7 separate regions of the Homo sapiens genome follow, and all the other regions are linked to region 1. The links are contacts of gene promoters, found by promoter capture Hi-C in blood cells and fetal thymus (Javierre and others, 2016). All regions are on one chromosome and are shown on one strand. Each heading gives the region's core, a stretch centred on a gene start or on the middle of the fragment in contact. The rest is flanking DNA. Distances are from core to core; before and after follow the strand shown.

Region 1 (2,885 bases), core at 386-2,885:
TCTCATCTCTGATACACCACAACCTGGAGAGGAATCATGGTTCCAGTTCTAGTTTCTGCACCGTATTACCCCAAAGGCCATTTGACCATCTTCCCCCAACCTTTAACTCCTCTGTATAGCCTTATTCTGGCGGATGCAGCTATTACTCACCCAATTCCTTGGGCCAGAAAACCTGGAAGTCTCTCAAGATTCCTCCTTCCCTCTCCTTCACATCCAATTGGCCACTGAGTTTTGTGGGTTCTATTTCCTAAATCAATCTGTTCATTCATTCCATATTATGTGCCACGAATACGCCGTGATGAATTGGATAAGACCCCTACCCCCAGCTTCAAAGAGCTTACTGTCTTAATGAGGTCATTTTGCAAATGAACAACCCATTCTATAGCACAGTGGTACATGCAAGAAAGGGGTTAAGCAGAGTCCTGGGAGGGAACACCTCAGGGCTTTATGATTCATCTTGGGAAGCCTGAGGGCTTTTCTGTTGGCATGCCCACGCTGAAATGTGAAGGATGTATACCAGGAACCTGGTGAAGGAAGCGTGCAGAGGGGAAGCAAATGCAACTTTCTGGAGGCTAGAACAGAGAAGGGGAAGTTCACCAGGTCCGCAGAGATTAGCCTGGAAGCTGGTCTCCAGCCCGGTCCTAATCCAGTAATTACACTGCCCAACGGCTTTCCAAAACTCAAAAGAAAAAGCCCAGCACTGTCCTTCCTGTCCCTGGAAGTTTGTCCTTCAAGTCTCCCATCACTTGTCATTCGCTCATCAAGTATTTACTTAACATCCACTCTGTGCAGGTACCATATTGATAGCGGCCTCAAGGGTGCTTCTATTTAGGGAATTTTTAGTCTATTGGAGCAGATAGACCGTGGGGGGCATTCCGGGGATGCTGGGGGCTGTCAGGCCACGCTAGAAGCTGACACTGAAGACGTCAGCTACTCTTTAAGGACCCATCTGCCTCGCTGCCCACTGCTCAACCCGTCACTGGGGGCTCCAGGCCTGCCACCGGCTTGTCCTCTGAAGGGATAAGCAAGTGTTCTATTCACAGCCCGGAGTGCCCTTCTGCCCTCGCCCGAGGCCACTGCCCGCCTGGGGCCAGCTCCAGCGCTGCGTTCTCCAAGCGTGGCCACACTCATCGGCGCGCTGCTCTGCCAAGGGGGCTGACGCGGCGCGCACGGCCAGGGAGCTCTTGGGGGCAGACGCCGTCCAGCCTCCCGGCCGCCGGGTGCCTACTCCAGACCGGCTCTCTCTCTCCCTAGGCGCCTCCCACGCCCGGGCCGGAGAGCGGGCGCTCGGGGCGACGGACGACCCTGCGCGCACGTGGGCGCAGCCTGGAGGCCGCGGGGACCCTCTCCCATGGGGGCGACGGGAGACGTCCTGCCGGTAGACCTTGGCCAGGGGGTCGCGCTCCCCGCCCGCACCCCTCCCGGAGCCCCGGCGGGGACGTGCGGGGACGCGCCCGGGCGGGAGCGCGCGCGCCAGGCGCCTCCGAGGTCCCGGCAGCGGCTCGGGGCGGGCGGAGGAGGGGCCGAGGGCGGGGCGGCCGCAGCCTCCGCCATTCCCGGCCCCCCCCGGCCACGGCGCACCGCCTCCCCGCCCCCGCCCGCCCTCCCCCACCGCGCGCGCTCCGCCCGCCCCGGAGCCTCGCCCTCCGCCACGATGAGCAAATGAGCGCGAGCGAGGGCATGAAATTTAAATTCCACTCAGGGGAGAAAGTGCTGTGCTTCGAGCCTGACCCCACCAAGGCGCGAGTGCTGTACGATGCCAAGGTGCCGCCGCGGAGGGACAGGGAGGAGGCGCGGGCTGGGGGACCCGGGACCGGGGGCGGGGGCGGGGGCGGACGGCCGCGCGGAGCTGAGGGACCGGCCGGGCTCCTCGGCCTGCGAGGAGCGGTGCGGCCGGCAGGGGGCGCTCACAGGGCGCTACGCCCGGGAGTCGGGGCGGGGTCTGGGATGCTTCCACTTCCTTCCGTCAGGCCGGGCGGCGCACGCGCGGTTGGGAGCCTCGCCCATGCTTTGTCGCGTTACCGGGGCTACCGTTTGCGCCCCCGACTGCAACGGTGGCCGCTGAGGGAGGAGGCTTCTCGAATACGGTTTCTGTCTTCGCGTTAAATGTCTCCTTCTGTGCGGCCTGGTGCCGGGTGGGCTCCTGTGGGACGCCCTGGCCGTCCGATCCAGGTTCTAATTCATAGTTACACGGCGCTGGCCGCTGACTTGCGACGTTGTGTCCCTGGGACCCTAGTCCAGTTTAGGCCCCATCCCGCCTGTAGGCCGTGAACCCCATCCCGAGGGCAAGGTTGGCCCAGTGTTTTCGTACCCCAGGGCCTTGCAGCATTTACGTTTTCAAACTCTGAAGGATTTACGTGGGTCTGACCATAGTTGATGGGAATCGCGCCCCGGGCCGGTCCACCTAAGTCTCCGGGAGCTGAGCCACATCTTGCAGCTCCTCAGATTTGGGTGGCGGGCAGGAGTTGGCACCAGGTCTCCCAGATCCCCAAGGAAAGCACCCAGGTGCTTTCATTTCAGAGACCTGGGTTCCTAGGGCCACCTGGGCGAAGCCTTAGGCGGCAGGGACAGGGGCAGTCCCAGGTGTGTCTTTGGCGATGTCTGGACAGCTCTGTCCATTAGAGATGCTAAAGGACATCCCTAAAGGGATGAGCATATTCTGCCTTCAGTTCCCTCCCCTGCTGCTCCTGTCTTTTAACCGCGTCTGCTATCCCTCTTTCTCCTCGCCCTCCAGCCTCCTCGGGGCGGAGGGGGGGGGGCACGCCCCATCATTAGTTTTAGTTGTTCCCTCTAGGGACACAACAGGGAGGGATTCCAGAGTCTCCAGCTAGCCATCCTGGCACTGGACATAGGGGAGCCCAGGAGACTACAACTCCCAGAGCTCT
Region 2 (2,750 bases), core at 74-2,573, 1.7 Mb before region 1:
GGCTGGATCCTATCCACTGTGGGTGTTTGTAAATAAAGTTTTATTGGAACACAGCCATGTCCATTTAGTAACCTATTGTCTGTAGCAGCTACAGTGGCAGAATTGAGTATTTGAGACAGATTGTATGGCCCACAAAGTCAAAAATATTTAGGGTCTGGCCCATTAGAGAAAAAGTTTGCTAATTCCTGGTCTATACCCATAGTTCTCAGACCTGGCTGCAAGCTAGAATCTTTAAAAACTTGCTGCTTGGACCTCACCCCAAGAGATTTTGATAGAACTGGCCTTGGGTGGGACCAGGCTTTTTTTTTTAAGCTTCCCAGGTGATCCCCAGGGTTGAAATCCACTGGGCTAGACAGAGTGTGAATGGCCCTTGTAGCAGCAGGAATATGACTTTGTTTATTATCCTAGTTCCTAGGAGTTACTCAAAGTCTACATTGAAAGTCTTTCTGGGTGGCTAGGAAAGAGGCAGCGTTATCTCTGGTGAGAAAGTGCTGATCCACCCTGAGTTCTTGGATTAGGTGGTGGTGAAGCTTGACCTTATCAGCCATCAGCCTTGCCAGCATTCCTTCTGAGGCTCCAAGCCTGTCTCACAATGACTCTTCCATTGGTGCTCTGTTTTTTTTTTTTTGTTTTTTTGTTTTTTTGTTGTTGTTGTTGTTGAGACAGGATCTTGCTCTGTTGCCCAGGCTGGAGTGTGGTAGTGTGATCTTGGCTCACTGCAGCCTCAACCTCCCGGGCTCAGGCGATTCTCCTACCTCAGCCTCTTGAGTAGCTGAAACTCCAGATGTGCGCCACCATACCTAGCTAATTTTGGTACTTTTTGTAGAGATGGGGTTTTGCCATGTTGCCCAGGCTGGTCTCAGACTCCTGGACTCAAGAGATCTGCCCGCCTCTACCTCCCAAAGTGCTGGGATTACAGATATGAGCCACCGCACCCGGCCTCATTGGGGCTCTCGCTGTTGAAGGATTTCTCATTTGCTGTCTTTGGTTAGGAACAGGGCTACAGGCAATCCATTCCAATTCAACCTTTTGTTTTCCTTCACACACGCATGTTGGAGCAGGCAGGAGAAAAAAGGATCATGGAGCATTTTTCCCATGTATTAGTCAGCAAGCCAGATTTTGGAGGTTGCAGCAAAGCACATGTGTTTCCTGAGAAATAATCCCCTAGTCTGTCCTGGAGGGAGAATTCCTGGTTAGGATTTGGTGGCTTCTTGGGTTACTTCTGTAGATCACCCCCAGGTGGCCTTACTTGATTGTTTTTGGTCTTTTGCTTATATTGCCTTAAAAAAAACCCATCCTGCCCGCTTTGTTGGCCTTGCGTATTTCTCCATGTGCCTCTCTGGTAGATAGTACCTGTCAACCTGGAACCTGTCAGGGCTTGTCGGCCTTTTGCCCAGAGTCATTCTTGGCTCCCTTGAGCAACTCCTGACAGTGCTGATCCCTGGAGGCCTACACCTGGTCCTAAGGAGCAACCTGCTCCAGAGGATGTCTTTGAAGAAGGACTGCTGGTCTTTTAAAGCATGTCTTGTCTCTGGGGTGACCTTAGGTACCCATAGCTCAGAAGACGCCTGTACATAAGAGAGACAAAGACAAACAGACTCATGGACACACACATTTCCCCTTTCAGTAATCTGTCAAACTGAAATCCAGAGTTAAGTACTGGGGTTTGCAGCATTTTGAGTCCTAAATACACAGGTCAAGTTCACCTGTTGGGTGGTGGGCACTGGGGAGCTGGAGGACCGTTTCTTCTTCTGGGAAAGCTAGCCCAATTAAAGGATCTTTGGCAGCTGACCCACCGGAGCCCAGATTCTAGACATGAAGCCCTCTATGAATGATGGCATAATGTATTATAGATCAAGTCACTACAGACTCAGTCTTTTAATCTATAAAATGGGCAAGGACACATAAGTATCATTTCACCTTCACAAAGATTTTATGAGAATAGATTAAATAAATGTGAAAGGCACCCTGTAATAGCAAGGTATAATAATTTACATTGCTGTGGTCCAGCTAGGCTATAACCTTGTTATTATATTATCTGAGGCAATGTTGTATGCCTGAGCAGACTCCATATGCTATTTAATAGCTCTGCCCACTTAACTCTTCAAGAGAGAAGAAAGCTTCAGAGGTGAAAGTCTGGTCTTTAGCATAAACCTCGAGATTGGAGACATGTCTTAATAGAGGAAGATACTCCGTTTATAAATGTTGTGGAAGGCCGGGCACGGTGGCTCACTCCTGTAATCCCAGCACTTTGGGAGGCTGAGGCAGGTGGATCACTTGAGGTCTGGAGTTCCAGACCAGTCTGGCCAACGTGGCAAAACCCCATCTCTACTAAAAATACAAAAAATTAGCCGGGTGTGGTGGCGGCGCCTGTAATCCCAGCTACTTGGGAGGCTGAGGCAGGAGGATCGCTTGAACCCAGGAGGTGGAGTTTGCAGTGAGCTGAGATCACACCACTGTGCTCTGGTTTGGGTGACAGAGTGAGACCCTGTCTCCAAAAGAAAAGAAGTGTTGTGTAGTACACGCTATTATGAGGTCTGGAGTCCTGATCTGTTCTTGGACTCTGTAAATGGTTCTAGTAGTCTTATTGGCAGATCTGAGGAACTGAGAATTTTATTTATAAATTTAATTACATTATTAAAAGTTATGCCAGTGTTCACAACCATCCTTAGTATTTGAAGATAAAATGTATTCACTGTGTTAGTTACTTGAGTAGACTTTTCCCTTATCCCAGTCCTGGAATTTTATAA
Region 3 (2,821 bases), core at 1-2,500, 2.0 Mb after region 1:
TTACAAGTGTAACCTGTAACAGGTAGTTCAAATTCAATCAAGGTTTAGGTTTTAATAATCGTATGATACATAGATTGTATTGGTGAATTACATTTTTATATTCCCGAATAACTCTGTATCCTGAAACATTACAGTCTCTTGAAAATGTTTGAGAAAATGTTGAGTTTGAGTCGTCTTAAAGGAGCATATTCAAATAATTAATTGAACTGACAATAAGATAGGAGAAGGAAATATTTGTATAATGAACACAGTAAGATTAGGCTTGTTTTATAAATATGGCTTATAGGTTCCTAAATTAATAAGTGGGTTTGTAATACATTTGGATGAAGGACATTGACACCATATAGAAAATACTAGTGTACTGCTTAATAATAGTTTGGGAAATGAAAAATTTTATCTTTAAACTATATTGAAATGTATGAATGTTTAGTTTGGGCAGAAAATACCTATTAGTATGCTTTATATTTGGATTAACAGCCAGGAGTAGGATTAGCTCAACGTGTTTTCATTGAAATATGCATTTCAAAAGCATATTTTACGTTTAAAATATGTAGCTATATCCTGTGTATGTATCCTTTTTTAATTTAAATTATATGGTGAGCATTTCCCTGTTTCCTTAAAAGTTTTTTGAAATCTTCATTTTCAGTGGCAACAGGCTTATCTTTGGATATTTTTGTAATGTATATAGCAGTCCCCTGTTGTTGAATATTTTGGTTATATTCTCCAACAGTCCACAGAGGTGTGATGAAGTGGCAGAATTTTTTCCTATACTTAATATCCCAATCGTAAGCTGCTGAAATGGGCTTCTAGGGAAGTGAAGTTATGAGTCTGCAAGTGGATCTGGCTAACCACCCGTTTCATTTGGAAGCTGGGGAAAGAAAGCTTTTTCTAGAACCCACTGGACTGCTTGTCTCACGGGGTAAGACAAAGTGTGCAGGGGAAGGTTTCTAACTTCTGGCCATGGATCTAGAACCATTATGGAAATAGAAGGAAGGTTTCCAATGAATGTAGCTCATCTGTGTATATCTCTAATGAAACAGTCCTGCTGAAATTTCTTTCCCTTGTGTTTCTTTTTTATTTTTGTTTTTATTTTATGCTAGACACAACTTCGAAACCAGCTAATTCATGAGTTGATGCACCCTGTATTGAGTGGAGAACTGCAGCCTCGGTCCATTTCAGTAGAAGGGAGCTCCCTCTTAATAGGCGCCTCTAACTCTTTAGTGGCAGATCACTTACAAAGATGTGGCTATGAATATTCACTTTCTGTTTTCTTTCCAGAAAGTGGTTTGGCAAAAGAAAAGGTAAAGTCTTTCCTTTTCTGTTTCTGAAGTTTTTATTAACAGGTTCTTCCTCTGCTGACAGTAAAGTGCTGTATGATAGCTAAGTGCTCCTCGACTAGGTCCATTTCTGTTTCCTCTTTGAATTCACATTGTACCTGCACATAATATATTTGTTATATAACAAGTGGGTACTAAATTTGAAATTAATTTCTTGGCGTCTCATTTAGTCTCACATAAAACAGTGATGTATAGAATCTCTAAATGTTTCAGACCTATAATTGATCTATCTATCCTCTATCTTGTCTAATAAGACTCTGCCAATCTGCTGAATGTCTGCTGTAAGCTTGGCACTGTGATAGGCACACTGCAGATGTTTTGTGTGTTACGGATGAGGAACCAGACTCTGGAGAGGTGAATCAATTTGCCCAACATCAAGTAACTTTTAAGTGACAATGCAGGGTGGTAAATCTAGATCTCTAACATGAGCTCTTTTTTTCCTGCACTAGTTTCTTCAGATGTTTCTCTTTGTAATTAGATAAGTGAGAAATACGTAATTTAAAAAATCTGTAAAGTTCTCAAATATTAAAAACACTTGTTTTTTTTTTTTACTACTTTTCTAATTATTTTAACTATATTTCTTCACCATTACTGTTGAACATTAGTACTACTTTATTATTTTAAAGGCAGATACAGCAGACTTTCCCTGTGGATATGTGCGTGTTTTTTTTTTTTTAATAGACTTTATTTTTTCAGAGCAGTTTTGGGTTCACAGCAAAGTTAAGTGGGAAGTACAGAGAATTCCCATATACCTGCTGCCCCTACACACTCATAGCCTCCCCCACTGTCAACATCTTGCATCAAGGTGGTACATTTGCTACAATCTATAAGCCTACCCTGACATGTCATTATCACCCAGAGGCCATAGTTTACAGTGAAGGTTGCAGTGAGCCGAGATCATGCCACTGCACTCCAGCCTGGGTGACAGAGCGAGACTGTCTCAAAAATAAAATAAATTTCACTCTTGGTGGTGTTCATATGTTTTTACTTTCTTTGTGTTTTCTGTAATTATCCAAAAGTTTCATATTCCAAAGTTTTAGTGACACAAGCTTAGTACAGTATTTGAATGAAAACTTAAATAATTTGCATTTCTTCATAAGCAACCAAATTTTATTTGTCAGCATTAGGAATTTATTTATTAATTTATGTTTTTGAGACAGAGTCTTGCTCTGTTACCCAGTCTGGAGTGCAATGGCGCAGTCTTGGCTCACTGCAACCTCTGCCTCCTGTGTTCAAGCAATTCTCCTGCCTCAGCCTCCCAAGTAGCTGGGATTACAGGTGCCCACCACTACACCTGGCTAACTTTTTTATTTTTAGTAGAGAGGAGGTTTCACCATGTTGGCCAGGCTGGTCTCGAATCCTGACCCCAGGTGATCTGCCCACCTCAATCTCCCAAAGAGCTGGGATAACAAGCATGAGCCCTCGTGTCTGGCCTGGAATTCATTTTTGATACATCATTCTCTAACTTTCTAATCACTTTATAC
Region 4 (3,104 bases), core at 66-2,565, 1.6 Mb before region 1:
AAATATTTACTCTCTGGTCCTTTACAGAAAACATTTGCCCACCACTGCTCTAAAAGGCCGTGAGGGAATGATGATCTCAGAGGAGCATAGGATTCTGTTAGCACAGGGAGGTGTGTGTAGGTAGTCCATCTGCTGTGGGAGACGTGATCTGTGCCAGCTAATTCTAAGTTCGTGCTGCTAAAATTTAACCTTGAAAACAAAAGGAGGAGATGAAGTCTGTGTGAAGAGGCTTTTTAATGAAACTTAGCAATGTAAGTTAAGATAGTAACTCATATTCAGAATGGAGACACCGAACCAATGTCCCCCTTCAGCATAGCTTTTAAATCATCAAAGATCAAATCACATTTAGTATGTTTTTTAATTAAGTGAATTATTTGAGTGTGTGCTCGAATTCTTTGGAGACTTTTGTGGCATCTTTATAGCTCTGTGAACTAGAAAGCTCGTCGTACCGTTGCGGCACATAACTGAAAGAATCACATCAGTGGGAATTTAGCTGCTTGATGACATTCATTTTATTTTCTTAATTACCCTGTTTCCCGAGGAAACAGTTTCAAGGAAAAAAGCATGAATTCGAAAATGCATTCGGATCAGTTGCTGTATCTGCTTTGTTCTAGATCACCAGCAAGAGCAAGGAGTCCATATGGGAGTTCATCAAGAGCCTGCTGGATGCCTGGTCGGGATGGGTGGTGATGCTGCTCATCGGCCTGCTGGCGGGTACGTGGATGGGCATGCGGCACTCCCGTGGGAAGCTGCAGAGGCCGAAACCTCAAAACACGAACCCTCTGGGAGATTTGGAATATAGCGCGTGTCGCTTGTCGCTTTTACCCCTGTGGGAGGGATTTATTACTTGAAATATCTAAGGGCAAAATGCATGGCTGTATATTTAACCTAAAATCCATCATCAATAAGGCATGCCCAAGGCATGAGCTCAGGCACAGGCTTCTGAAGAGCTGTGACGATAGAGCTGGTAGCCTTTCCACACAGAGCAGAGTTTTCTTACTATACCGGATTTGACTGAAAACACACATTTTTTTTGGAAACGGTCTTGTTCCATTGCCCAGGCTGGAGGGCAGTGGAATGATGCCAGTTCACTGCAGCCTCCACCTCCCGGGGTTGAACAATCCTCCCACCTCAGCCTCCTGAGTAGCCAGGACCACAGGCATGCGCCACCATGCTCAGCTAATTTTTGTTATTTTTTCATAGAGATGGGGTCTCACTGTGTTGCTCAGGCTGGTCTCAAACTCCTGGGCTCAAGCCATCCTCCTGCCTCAGCCAAAGTGTTGGGATTACAGGTGTGAGCCACTGAGCCCAGCCAAGCACACATTTTATATTCGGTTATTCTTGATTATGTAGATGACAACAAAATCAGGGACTGTTTTATCTTCAATAACAAAATGTCATATGAGATTGCCTTTTGCTACTACTGGTAGGCTCTGGGATGAACTGGAAACATCCTGCAACAGTCAGCACCATGCTAGACACCCACGGGAGCTGAGGCAGGCCCAGGGGCCTCCATCATCCTGACCCTCAGGAACTCTGCATCTTTCCTTTTTAGAATCCCAACACCGTGTTTGCGAGCAGTAGATGTTTCCAGAGTAAATGGATGCTATCTGGAGGGGAAACACGTCTTTTTAATATCAAACGCACCAGCCCTTCCGGGAAATAGTTTCCTGAAACTTATGTCCTTTTAGGAGATTGTGAAGGTTAATGTCTAAGAATAAAAAATTTGGCATGACGAAGAGGTTTCCTTAATAAAAATCCCCTGCATATAACAACATAATAGTTATGGTTAGAGAACAGATCAGGGAATTGACTAGAACACAGGCAGAATATATGTAGTAAGTGGTCTAAGAAGGACAGAACACAAATGGGGCACAGATAGAGTTTTGTGATTCCAGGGGCTTTCAGTTTCCAGGTGATCTTGATTTATTCCCTAGCTCATCGGAGGAGGGGCTTGGTTGCCAGGGAAGGGCTCTACCTCCCTCACCTGCCTCAGCATTCCGTAAAGAGCTAAGAGGAATGCTCAGAGGGGGAGTTCTTTCCTACTAGTCACAGATGCTGTCTGTCCGTTTCTCCAAGCCTGTCCTTCCTTTACCAGTGGCATTTCCCGTCATGTACTGGCAGCAGCCAGGGCAGGAAATTAGACTTCATTGTCACAAGGGATTGGACGACCAATTTTGCTTGACTGCTTCTATAAAGGCCTTTGAAGGTGGGCCAGGTGGGAGTTTGCTATGAATTTTGATGTCCTTATTTAGAGTAGATTGATAAAACCTTATAGTGTGTCATTTTTCTTGGCTCGTAGGAAGGAGAAATAAATAGGGTAAATGAAGAAACTCAGAACAGGAATAGATGTTCTGATAACGGCACAGCTTAGATTCATTGACTGACCTAGGAGCCCAACTGGGCTGACTTTAATCTGATTTTGACCAGCTGGCTTTATTATCCACTTGATTTCCATCAGCTCTTTCACGAGGGGGAATTAAAAACAATATGCTGCTGCCCTGGCTTCACTTAAACAGTATCTCTGGAGAGGACCTCTAGCTTGAATACAGCCTGCCCCTCCCCTCTGTGATTGTAATGTGCAGCCAGGGGTGAGCACCACTGGCCAAAGGAGAGCCCATGCGCACGTCAGCAGGGGAATACATGGGAGGGTGAGAATGGGGTGATGCTGAAAATGAAGGGACTACAGTGTTCTTTTGATTTGGATGCACTTTGAAGGGACAGCCAGAGAGCCACGTCCCACTCACTTCCCCCTTCCTCGCTGGACTAACAGTGGAGAGGACCTGGGGTCTCACTGCCTGGCCGGCTGTCCCCTCAGTGGCTGTTGTCTTCGGACTCCCCTCATGGGTAGGCCCACAGCATCTCCGCATGTGCTTATCAGAAGTCACCGCTAGGTGTCACTGTTGGACCACGAAAGAAAGCTGAGGCCTGCTGAAGCGCAGTCAGAACCAGAATCAGCAAGGAAGATTGGGTGTGCAGTAGGGGGGTTGTGAATGAATGAATAATGATGAAACTTGGGGTGATCATCCTGTTTGCCCCTGGATATCTGCAGGACCCTCCCATCTTCTTCACCTTCTTCTTCAAATACTGCACGATGTCACTTA
Region 5 (3,012 bases), core at 146-2,645, 1.7 Mb before region 1:
CTCCAGGTTGTGATAAGTAAATGGTTAATTGTTAGATTTTTTTTTTTTTTGGCACACAGGTAGCACTGAGAACAGCTACCATTTATTGAGGTCTCTGCTCAGCTGACATCAAACAAGATGCCCCATGTTTGTTACCCATCGTCAATACCGCAGGCTGAACCATGTGGTGTTCCATGGTGGAGACACAGAGGCTTTACGCCATGAGGCCAAGCAGGGCTGCCTGCCCCGGCCTCTCTGAGGCCACCGTGTGCAGCACCAGGGCCAGCCACTCATTTGCCTTGCTTGAATTCCCACCGTGGAGGCAACAGATAGAATTTCTGGAAGAAGCTTCAGGCTCGAGCACCTTCTTTGACGTCTCCATAGCCTCTCAAACTCTGAGAAGCTCCAGGAAGAGGCACAGGCAGAGTCCTCTTCTATCCAGGTTAAATAAGTTGTTTTGCCTTTCTTATGTGAACTTAACAATATTGGCCCCTCCCAAGAAGGCCTTATCTCAATCTCAAGCCAGTTTTGTGAGTTCTACTGCACTTGGGCATTTTTGGTTCTGGTGTCTGTAGTAAAATTTGCTGAAAGTGAATATATTCAGAAGTCTAAAAGAAATGGTCAAAAATCTGATTTCTGGCTGGGTGCAGTGGCTCATGCTTATAATCTCAGCACTTTGGGGGGCTGAGGCAGGAGGATAGCTTGAGCCCAGAACTTTGAGAAAAGCCCAGGCAACATAGTGAGACCTGGTCTCTACAAAAACAAACAAACAAACAAAAGTTTAGCTGGGTGTGGTGGCATACCTGTAGTCCCAAGTACTCAGGAAGCTGAGGTCGGAGGATCACCTGAGCCAAGGAGGTCGAGGCTACGGTGAGCTATGATTGTGCCACTGCACTCCAGCCTGAGTGATAGAGTGAGACCCTCTCTCAAAAAAAAAAAAAAAAAAAAAAAAAATCAGAATTCTGATTTCTGCTTAAAACTGCCACACAGAGAGATTTCATGTGCCAGAATGCATACTAACTCTAATTTTTGGCAAACCAACATACATATGAGATTACTTTTGACCATGTAGAATTATGACTGAGAAATGAGGTTTATAAAAATACGTAAGCTAAAACAGCAACTCAAAGAACTGAAAAAGAAATACGTAAGCATTGTCTGGGAGCTGTTTTCCCCTTCCCTGTTTTTCCTCTGTAACAATCTCAAGGCAGCATTCATCTCTGTCAGGCTCATTTACATTTTCGATAGAAATACTTATTTTTTTCTTTAGGAAACATGAAGGTTTAAGAACCAGTAAAAATGGTACCATAATTGTCCTCTATTTTATTCACATGCTGCCAGGGGGACTTAGTTGCGATGTGATTTAAATGACTAAGAATTTTATTAGAGGTGCCTGTGATGAAGGGCATTTATGTGAAATCTAACGAGCATGGGGGTGAGGTGGGGCAACTGTTCAGTAATAAATAATGCAGCAGACCTAAAACAAATGAGAGAACCACTTCTGGAGGGAAGAGACACATCACCATCTCCGTTCAAAGAGCTTGTCTCATTGTGTTCCAGAGCCTGGCCAAGCTGACCGATAGCTTCAAGAACAGCTGCTCCGTTACCGACTCTCTAGTGGACTTCCCTCACCATGTAGGCGTGCCTGGCGATGCTGGTGTACCCCAGCAGTTCTGCGATGCCGGCTCCCAGACTGATATCATCGGGGAGGTATATGCGCGCCCAGGGGGAGAAATGCACCGGGAGAGGGGAGGGCTGCTTCAGTGTTGCCATCACTGGTTTGGTGTAATTTTCCATGTTCACTTAAGAAATGCCTTCACTTTTGTGCCATTAAGTTTGAAGAAAAAGTGTTGTGTCTCACATCCAGCTGTGTGATACAATTGAATTGCTTATTACTGCTGCCCTTATGATTTGGACTCTTATAAATGACATACTCCTTGTGAGAGTTGAGTTTCACTGTTCTTTTGACAGACATATCACTTTTTAGAGCATGAGTCCCCACGCTTTTTCTGTGAAGGGCCAGATAGTAAATATAGTCACTATTTTAGGCTTTGCAGGTAGTTCTGCTGGAACTGCCCCACCCTGTCATTGTAGTGTACATGCAGCCATAACAGAGATGCCTTGCAAGCATGTAAGACTGGGGCCTCGAGCTGCTCAAACGTTCACTTACGGAACAGCCAGTGGGCTGGATTTGGCCCCAGGGCCATAGTTACTGATTCCTGCCTTAGACCACTGATTTCCAAAGGCTTTATAGCTGTGCCACCTTGGGTGTTACTTTATTGCTGTTTCTTACTCTTCTAAAAGAATGTCAGGAAATTGAATTGAACTAAAAGTCATTTTTGTTTGAGACTTGGAAGAATGTCATAATGCCTCCTTTGTTAATTAGCGAAGCCTTGAGTTAGCCACAAAAACAAAGTTGGGAAAATCACCATTTGAAGCAGGATGGTGGATATTCAAAGACGCTAGTATTGTAATATCATTGAGTGAAGCTTGACATTAATTTGTTACCAAATGGAAAAACAGTTTAAAGAGCTTCTTTTTTTTTTTTTAAGGATTATTAAGTAAAGATGAGGTATCAATGGAATGCACAGTGCCACCCCTCCCCCGAAATTAAATAAATAAAAGGAAAGCAACAAAAGGAGGAAAAAACAATTGATGGAAAACTCTGGGTTTTAAATAATTAGCTAATTAATATTTTGAAATCTTAGCAACTAGTGCCTCTTCGAGTGGAGTATAATGTAGGAAATCACGGCCCTTTATGTCTTGGGTGTCCTGGAACAGTCCTATTTTCAAATTTGCCTGCGTTGTTCCAAACGTACACTTGGCCGTTTTTGACTAGGCATCTTCTTTGGATGAAAGAATATGGTCGCCATCTGTAACACACAGAGGAGAATCTGTAATTCAAAAATGTTTGGCATTTTTGCGTAAAGATTTTGGAGCGAGAGAAGGAAACAAGTGTAAGACTCATTGAATTCGTGAATAATTCATTGCTGCTTATTGTAAGGTTAGAATTAGAATTTAGTTTGAGAGAAA
Region 6 (3,083 bases), core at 177-2,676, 1.6 Mb before region 1:
TGGAGATAGGGCCTTGACAGAGGTCATCATGGTGAAACGAAGGCATCAGCAGCGCGCGTCCCTTCATCTCAGACTTCTGGCCTCCGGAACTGGGAGAAAACCCTTTTCTGTTATCTGAGCCACCCAGTCCGTGGTGCTTGGTTACGGCAGCCCTAGCAAGCACGTGCAGCAGCATTTTTTTGTGGATGCATGAGAGCGCGACCCAGGGGCCTTTAATTAAGCTATTCTCACACGGTGTAGGAGAAACGTGGCCCCCAGTGCCCTCTCCATGGAGGCACATGGCTCTGGGTCCTGAGGTGGCAGAGGCCTGCCTGCTGTTGTGGAGAAAGGCCCCTGGGACCTGGGCTGGATCCAGCTGCCCCCTCACTGTGTGTGAGACTTAACCTCTGTGCCGCAGTTTGCTTATCTGTAACTTATCTGTAACGTGGGCCTGAGGGAGGCGGTACTTCATACACGGGGGAAGTGCTTAGAATGAAGCCAGGTACACGGAGCCCTGTACAAAGGCGTTGTGACTATTATTATGGGAAGAAGTCTCTGGGGAAATTCCAAACCCTTGGCTCTTGGCACCAGCAACACAAACACCTCACAGCCCAGCCCTCCTGTCCCTGGGATGGGGGTGTGAGAACACTGAGGCCATTGTGTCACCCGAGGCCACATGTGGTTGGCCTCATCCTATTTCCAACACGTGGGCTGGGTTTCAACGTGGAACGAATGGCTGCATGGCCCTGGGTCCATAGGAAGCCTGCCATGGTCACACAACAGCTGCCTAGTCCTATGGAAGCCAGACTGTGATTGAAGGAACACAGGGAGTGCTGGGGGCAGGGCCGGGGCCGGGGAGGAAGTGGGAGGAGGAAAAAGGAAGTGTCTCCGCTGGTTCGAGGCAGAATTTTGAAACAGGCACAGTTTCTTTCTGAACATCCTTTTGCTCTGAGCTTCCCCCTGTTTGAAACTCCTTGGTCGTGTGGCCCTCCACCCCTCACTGGGGGCCACCACCTGGCTCCCGTCACTGTCAGTGCCTTCCTGTCTTCTCCCCTCTGGTGTTTGGAGGGTTAGCTAGAAGGGGTGGAATGAGTCCTGGCCACCTCATCATCCTAAAGGTGCCCGCATTTTAAAAGCAAGACTCAAAATGATTACAAATGAAAATGAAATTCCTGGGGTTTCAGGCAAGGTGGAATAAGGCAGTGAAAAGCTTTTGTATTGGAGCCAGCCTCCAAGATGGGCCTCGACCATCCTACCTCCAGGTGTTCATGCTCATGTGTGGTCCCCTCCCATATGGAACCATTCAGGGCTGACCTGTGTCACCAATAGGATACCGTGGAAGCGACAGTGTGTGACTTCCAAAGCTAGGTCATTAGAGACCCTCCTGGTTCTCTTGGACCACCCCCTCTAGAGAAAGCCAACTGCCATGTCGTGGGGACATTCAGGGTATCCTGTGGGGATGCCAGCGAGCAAGTTGGTTGCTATGTGAGGGAGCCCCCGTCCAACTTTCAGATGACAGCAGCCCTGGCTGACATCCTGACCACAACCTCCTGAGAGACGCTGAGCCAGAAAGACCCAGCCACACTGCTCCCCACTTCCTGACACATAGAAACCGTGTGAATGGTCAGTGTAAATGGTAATTAGTGATGCAGCTTCAGATAACTGAAATGACTAGTAATGGTCCAAAGCTTTCTTGGAGGGGAGGCCCAGTGCTGGTCTCTCCTTGGGTCAGCTCCCCAGGCTCTGGCCATAGCTGCCTTCGTTTTGCCCCTTCTGAAGCTCCACTTTTCTCTGATCGTTCCATATTTGTTCATGGTATTTTCTCTCTCTTTCCTTCCTAGGTTGGAGAGGAGAGGAGCTTCATGCAAAGTTTAGGTCTATTGATGATAAATTAGGGCATATTGAGGATGAGTTTGGATATATAGATTTTTAGTAAATGGGCAACGGTCTGTATTTCATGAAAATGTATATCCTGTGTATCTCTTTATAGCCTGGAGGCTTCAGTAAAATATTCCCCAAATGCCAGTGGGGTTTGGCTGTCTGGGCGTTACTTTGGGCATTCGGCCTTTGCAGATGCGGGATGTCATTTTTGATGCGAGCAGCCCCCTTTTCCTCCAGCACCAGGGAAACACGCCACAGCCTGTAATGCAATGTGGAGCCCGTGTCCTCTGCCCGCTGCACAGGGGATTTGCCAACTCCAGCGCCTTTGCTTTGTCAGGGCTTTCAGACTTCTGACCTCAATTATTTCAGTGGGAGGTCATTTTTGCAAGAGAGGATGCAATGGGTGTTTGAAAAGAGAAAGTATTTCACGGGCACTTCAAAGAAGTGTTGCAAGCATGCCAATGAAAAACCTCACTTTTGTAAAGTGAAGCAGTGAGATTTAACTCCAGCTGATGGCTTGTTTGGGTTGCCTTTGGTCAACTTTTAATTGAAATCCATGTGCAGAAAAGTGCACAAAAGGTAAGCGTGCAGCTTGATGAATTGTCACAAGGTGAACACACCTGGGTAACAGTGCCCAGATCCAGAAATGGAACATGACCAGTTCCCAGAAGCCACCCTCATGTCCCCTTCCAAGGGTAACTGCTATCCTGAATAACGCCACTGGTTCCTTCTGCTTGTTTGGAACTTTATAGGGATGGAATCTCGGATCCCTTTGTGTCTGCTTTTCTTTGTGTCTTTCTTTTACTTGACATTAGGCTTGTGAGCTTCATTCTTATTATGGGATGGAGTGGTACCTCTTTCCTCCTCATAGCCCTGTATAGCCTAATAGCTTTCTTTGTATGTAAAGTGTCTCTTTTCTGTCACTGCTTTTAAGAGATCTTCTTTTTCACTTGTTTAACAGTTCGATTATGCTATGCCTTGGTGTAGTTTTCTTCATTTTTTTGTGTGTGCTTGGGGTTTGTTGAGCTTCTTCTATCTATAGGATTATATAGTCTAATAGTTTAAATCTTTGTGTAAACAAGATTTCCTATATTGAATGTTCTGGTCAGTGTATCTACATTTATTTCCGAGAAACTTCTTGAGAGAGCTTAAAGGGATTTTTAAGGCAGTTTCCCTCTCAAGCTGTCACCTCCTCCACTTGGATAAAAACAGTGAAGGATTTG
Region 7 (3,017 bases), core at 464-2,963, 1.8 Mb before region 1:
AAAAAAAAAAGAGAGACATGACGTGCTACTGTGAGAAATCCTGGTGTCTTAGTCTGTTCTGTCTATAATAAAGTACCATAGAGTGGGTCTAGCCATCTTTCTTTTTTGTGATGTTAGCAGCCAGTAATGCTCAAAGCTGAGATCTAGTCAACCCTTGTAAGTTCTATTTGTTCATTCTAACTCTAATTTCATCACTCCTTTAGGATTATCTGGAATGCTTCTATAAAGAGCCACTTTGCTCATCTGCAAGTTGGATAGCCAGGGATCCAAGGTAAATCTGAACTTTGGGCAACTCATGGCCAATGTGGGCATTTGTGGTTTGCCTCTGGTCTACACTGGATATGGCTGCTACAGTTTACGGCATGTACTTGAGAGGTCCAGCATGTCATGCCTGGGGCTCCTGGGTTTGGTGGGATCTCTGGGGGCTTTCATGGCAGGCTTCTGTTTCCTGTGATTTCCCAGCACTGATTGGGACCCTGTGAACAGAGTTCTATAGACTCTGTTCCCTACTGAAGCAGCAGCAGGAGCCTGGGGGCAAGGTTCCAGGCATGTTAGTTTCCTAGCGCCACTGTAACAAAGGACCACAAACTGATGGCTTAAACCTACACAAATGGATTCTCTCACAGTTCTGGAGGCCAGAAGCCTGGAATGCAGGTGTGAGGCAGGGCCACTCTCTCTCCGAAGGCTCCAGGGTAGAATCTGTTCCATGCCTCTCTCCCAGCTTCTGGTGCTTGCCAGAAATCCTTGGCATTCGTTGCCTTGTGGCCTCATTACTCCAATCTCTGCCTCCATTTTTACATGACCCTGGTGTCTGCGTTCCTTCTGCCCTCCCTTATGATATGACACCAGTCATATTAGATTAAAGGCCCACCCTACTCCAGTATGACCTCATCTTAAGTAACTGCATCTACAAATACCCCATTTCCAAATAAAGCCACATCCACATGTACCCAGGGCTAGGCCCTCAGCGTATCCTTTTTTTGGGTGGGGGAGCACAATTCAACCCCCAGCACCAGGGACCCAAGAGAGTCAAGAGCAGTGGAGGTTCTTCCTGCCAACGGGGTCATGCTGACCTCGGGGAAGTACCTGGGCTGGCAGAGAAGGCTTGGGCAGCAAGTAGTTTGATTTGCAGGGACAGAGTCCCATTCTCAAAAACAATCTCCTCTGCTGTCACTGAAAATTGTTGTTTCTTTGGAATTTTCAAAGGTCACCTGACTAGAAGTGAAAGGTATGGACAGAGCCGGCTTCAAAGGCTGCTGCCTGTGCAATTGTACAGGGTACTGTGCTCCAAAGGGCTTGTGCTTATTGTAGTGGTCCACTGTTACCATCTGGAAATTCTTGAGATTTTTTTTTTTTTGGAACAAGGGGTCCTGCGTTTTCATTTTGCACTGCAAAACGTAGAGCACAAACTATGTAGCTGACCCTGGGTTGGGACATCAGGCAGGGGAGACGCATAGTAAGCTAAGGCAAAAATCAAGCTCTGTTACAGTGTGGTTGGCCTGCAGCTGGCTTCTTCTCCATTTCTACTTCTGGGCCAGGGAAGTTGAACTGTATATTACTGTGCAAGCCTAAAGCTGAGTCACAAACAGATCCAGGCTCTTCAATGTGCTTATCATGCAGAGCAAGTGTGAAAGTGGCTTGTGATTACACTTTGCTCAGGGATTGCCATAGGGCTTGGCACCTCTTAAATGATAAATAAACCCCTCTTGATTATGAGGTGAAGTAAGGCAAATACTACCCAGATGGCTCTGTGAATCGATATTGTAAAGTAAGTTTTTGTAGATGCCTACACCCCCACACCATCCTCTTCCATGGGGTGTAATATGATGCTTCTTAAACTAACAGCCCTGGGGTGGACATTTCAATGAGTTCCCCCGTGATGCTGCCGCTGCTGGTCCACGAGCCACACTGTGAGCAGAAAGAGTCCTAGAAACAGGCCAGGTGCAGTGGCTCACGCCTGGAATCCCAGCACATTGGGAGGCCAAGGTGGGCAGATCTCTTGAGTCCAGGAGTTTGAGACCAGCCTGGGCAACATAGTGAGACCCCATTTCTACAAAAAGTTAGAATATTAGCCGAGCATGGTGGCTTGTGCCTGTGGTCTCAGCTACTCTGGAAGCTGAGCGGGGAGGATTGCTTGAGCCCGGGAGATTGAGGCTGCAGTGAGCCATGTTTGCGTCACTGCACTCCAGCCTAGGTGACAAAGTGAGACACTACCTGAAAAAAAAAAGAGAGAGAAAGAAAGAAAGAGTCATAGAAACAAAGAACAACTAGTTATAAAGTCAGGAGGTGTGATGGTTAATTTCATGTGTCAACTTGACTGGGCCACTGGGCCACGGGGTGCCCAGATATTTGGTCAAACATTACTCTGGTTGTGTGTGTGTAAGGGTGTTTCTGGATGACATCCACATTTGAATTGTAGACTGCCTTCTCAGTGTCGGTGGGCCTTGCCCAATCAGTTGAAGGCCTGGCTGGACCACAAAGGCTGGGTAGGAGGGTGCTCTTGCTGTGTGACTGCTTGAGCTGGAATGTTGGGCTTTTCCTGCCTCTGGACTCAAACTGAAACATTGGCTCCTCTTGGATCTCAAGCCTGCTCACTTTCAGACTGGAACTGACACCATCAGCTCTCCTGGTTTTCAGGTTGTCAGACTTGGACTGGAACTGTGCCATCATCAGCTCTCCAGCTTGCCAACTGCAGATCCTGGGATTTGTCAGCCTCCATAATTCCATGAGCCAATTCTTTATGATAAATATCTCTCTCTGTCTGCCTCTTTCTCTCTCTCTCTCTCTCTCTCTCTCTGTGTGTGTGTGTGTGTGTGTGAGAGAGAGAGAGAGAGAGAGAGAGAGAGTTTGGATATATATATATTGGAGCTATTTGTCTATACATCCCTGATGAATACAGGAGGTCAGATGGGATAGCTGGGCTTTAGTCTTAGGGCTGATGCATTTTAGCACTGGCCAGGTCATACCAGGCTAGTTACTTACATTCTCTGAGCCTTGTTTTCCCACTATAAAGTTTG

Evidence for each region. Contacts are between HindIII fragments. The CHiCAGO score rates a contact against its expected background, and 5 or more counts as called.
Region 2: a fragment that was not itself captured here is called in contact with the fragment with the promoter of MSL3 in region 1 in 1 of 17 cell types (non-activated CD4 T cells); the score reaches 8.6 in non-activated CD4 T cells.
Region 3: a contact is called between a fragment that was not itself captured here and the fragment with the promoter of MSL3 in region 1, in 1 of 17 cell types (non-activated CD4 T cells). The highest score is 6.7, in non-activated CD4 T cells.
Region 4: a contact is called between a fragment that was not itself captured here and the fragment with the promoter of MSL3 in region 1, in 2 of 17 cell types (neutrophils and monocytes). The highest score is 13.9, in neutrophils.
Region 5: a contact is called between a fragment that was not itself captured here and the fragment with the promoter of MSL3 in region 1, in 2 of 17 cell types (non-activated CD4 T cells and activated CD4 T cells). The highest score is 8.6, in non-activated CD4 T cells.
Region 6: a fragment that was not itself captured here is called in contact with the fragment with the promoter of MSL3 in region 1 in 1 of 17 cell types (monocytes); the score reaches 5.4 in monocytes.
Region 7: a fragment that was not itself captured here is called in contact with the fragment with the promoter of MSL3 in region 1 in 1 of 17 cell types (activated CD4 T cells); the score reaches 6.1 in activated CD4 T cells.

What each region holds. Positions count from the first base shown.
Region 1 is chrX:11,756,602-11,759,486 of GRCh38, forward strand. It overlaps MSL3 (MSL complex subunit 3), which reads left to right and starts at 1,636. Exons shown (of 13, transcript NM_078629.4): 1 at 1,636-1,764. The coding sequence starts at 1,663. MSL3-DT (MSL3 divergent transcript) reads right to left here and starts at 1,482. Exons shown (of 2, transcript XR_007068393.1): 1 at 151-1,482. RefSeq lists silencers at 1,176-1,375, 1,396-1,545, 1,556-1,935 and an enhancer at 1,789-2,083. The HindIII fragment of the contact is 7,532 bases long and covers 1-2,885 here.
Region 2 is chrX:10,073,366-10,076,115 of GRCh38, forward strand. All of the region lies in intron 4 of WWC3 (WWC family member 3), which reads left to right. Among named protein-coding and RNA genes, the nearest start is that of WWC3, 59 kb to the left of the region's middle. The HindIII fragment of the contact is 1,590 bases long and covers 529-2,118 here.
Region 3 is chrX:13,735,378-13,738,198 of GRCh38, forward strand. OFD1 (OFD1 centriole and centriolar satellite protein) reads left to right here. Exons shown (of 23, transcript NM_003611.3): 3 at 1,101-1,301. Among named protein-coding and RNA genes, the nearest start is that of OFD1, 2.0 kb to the left of the region's middle. RefSeq lists an enhancer at 1-284. The HindIII fragment of the contact is 741 bases long and covers 881-1,621 here.
Region 4 is chrX:10,186,901-10,190,004 of GRCh38, forward strand. CLCN4 (chloride voltage-gated channel 4) reads left to right here. Exons shown (of 13, transcript NM_001830.4): 4 at 615-714. Among named protein-coding and RNA genes, the nearest start is that of CLCN4, 31 kb to the left of the region's middle. RefSeq lists a silencer at 2,851-2,980. The HindIII fragment of the contact is 3,850 bases long and covers 1-3,104 here.
Region 5 is chrX:10,092,593-10,095,604 of GRCh38, forward strand. WWC3 (WWC family member 3) reads left to right here. Exons shown (of 24, transcript NM_015691.5): 8 at 1,540-1,689. Among named protein-coding and RNA genes, the nearest start is that of CLCN4, 63 kb to the right of the region's middle. The HindIII fragment of the contact is 2,141 bases long and covers 326-2,466 here.
Region 6 is chrX:10,166,225-10,169,307 of GRCh38, forward strand. All of the region lies in intron 2 of CLCN4 (chloride voltage-gated channel 4), which reads left to right. Among named protein-coding and RNA genes, the nearest start is that of CLCN4, 11 kb to the left of the region's middle. The HindIII fragment of the contact is 478 bases long and covers 1,188-1,665 here.
Region 7 is chrX:10,006,240-10,009,256 of GRCh38, forward strand. No RefSeq gene overlaps it. Among named protein-coding and RNA genes, the nearest start is that of WWC3, 7.5 kb to the right of the region's middle. The HindIII fragment of the contact is 6,322 bases long and covers 1-3,017 here.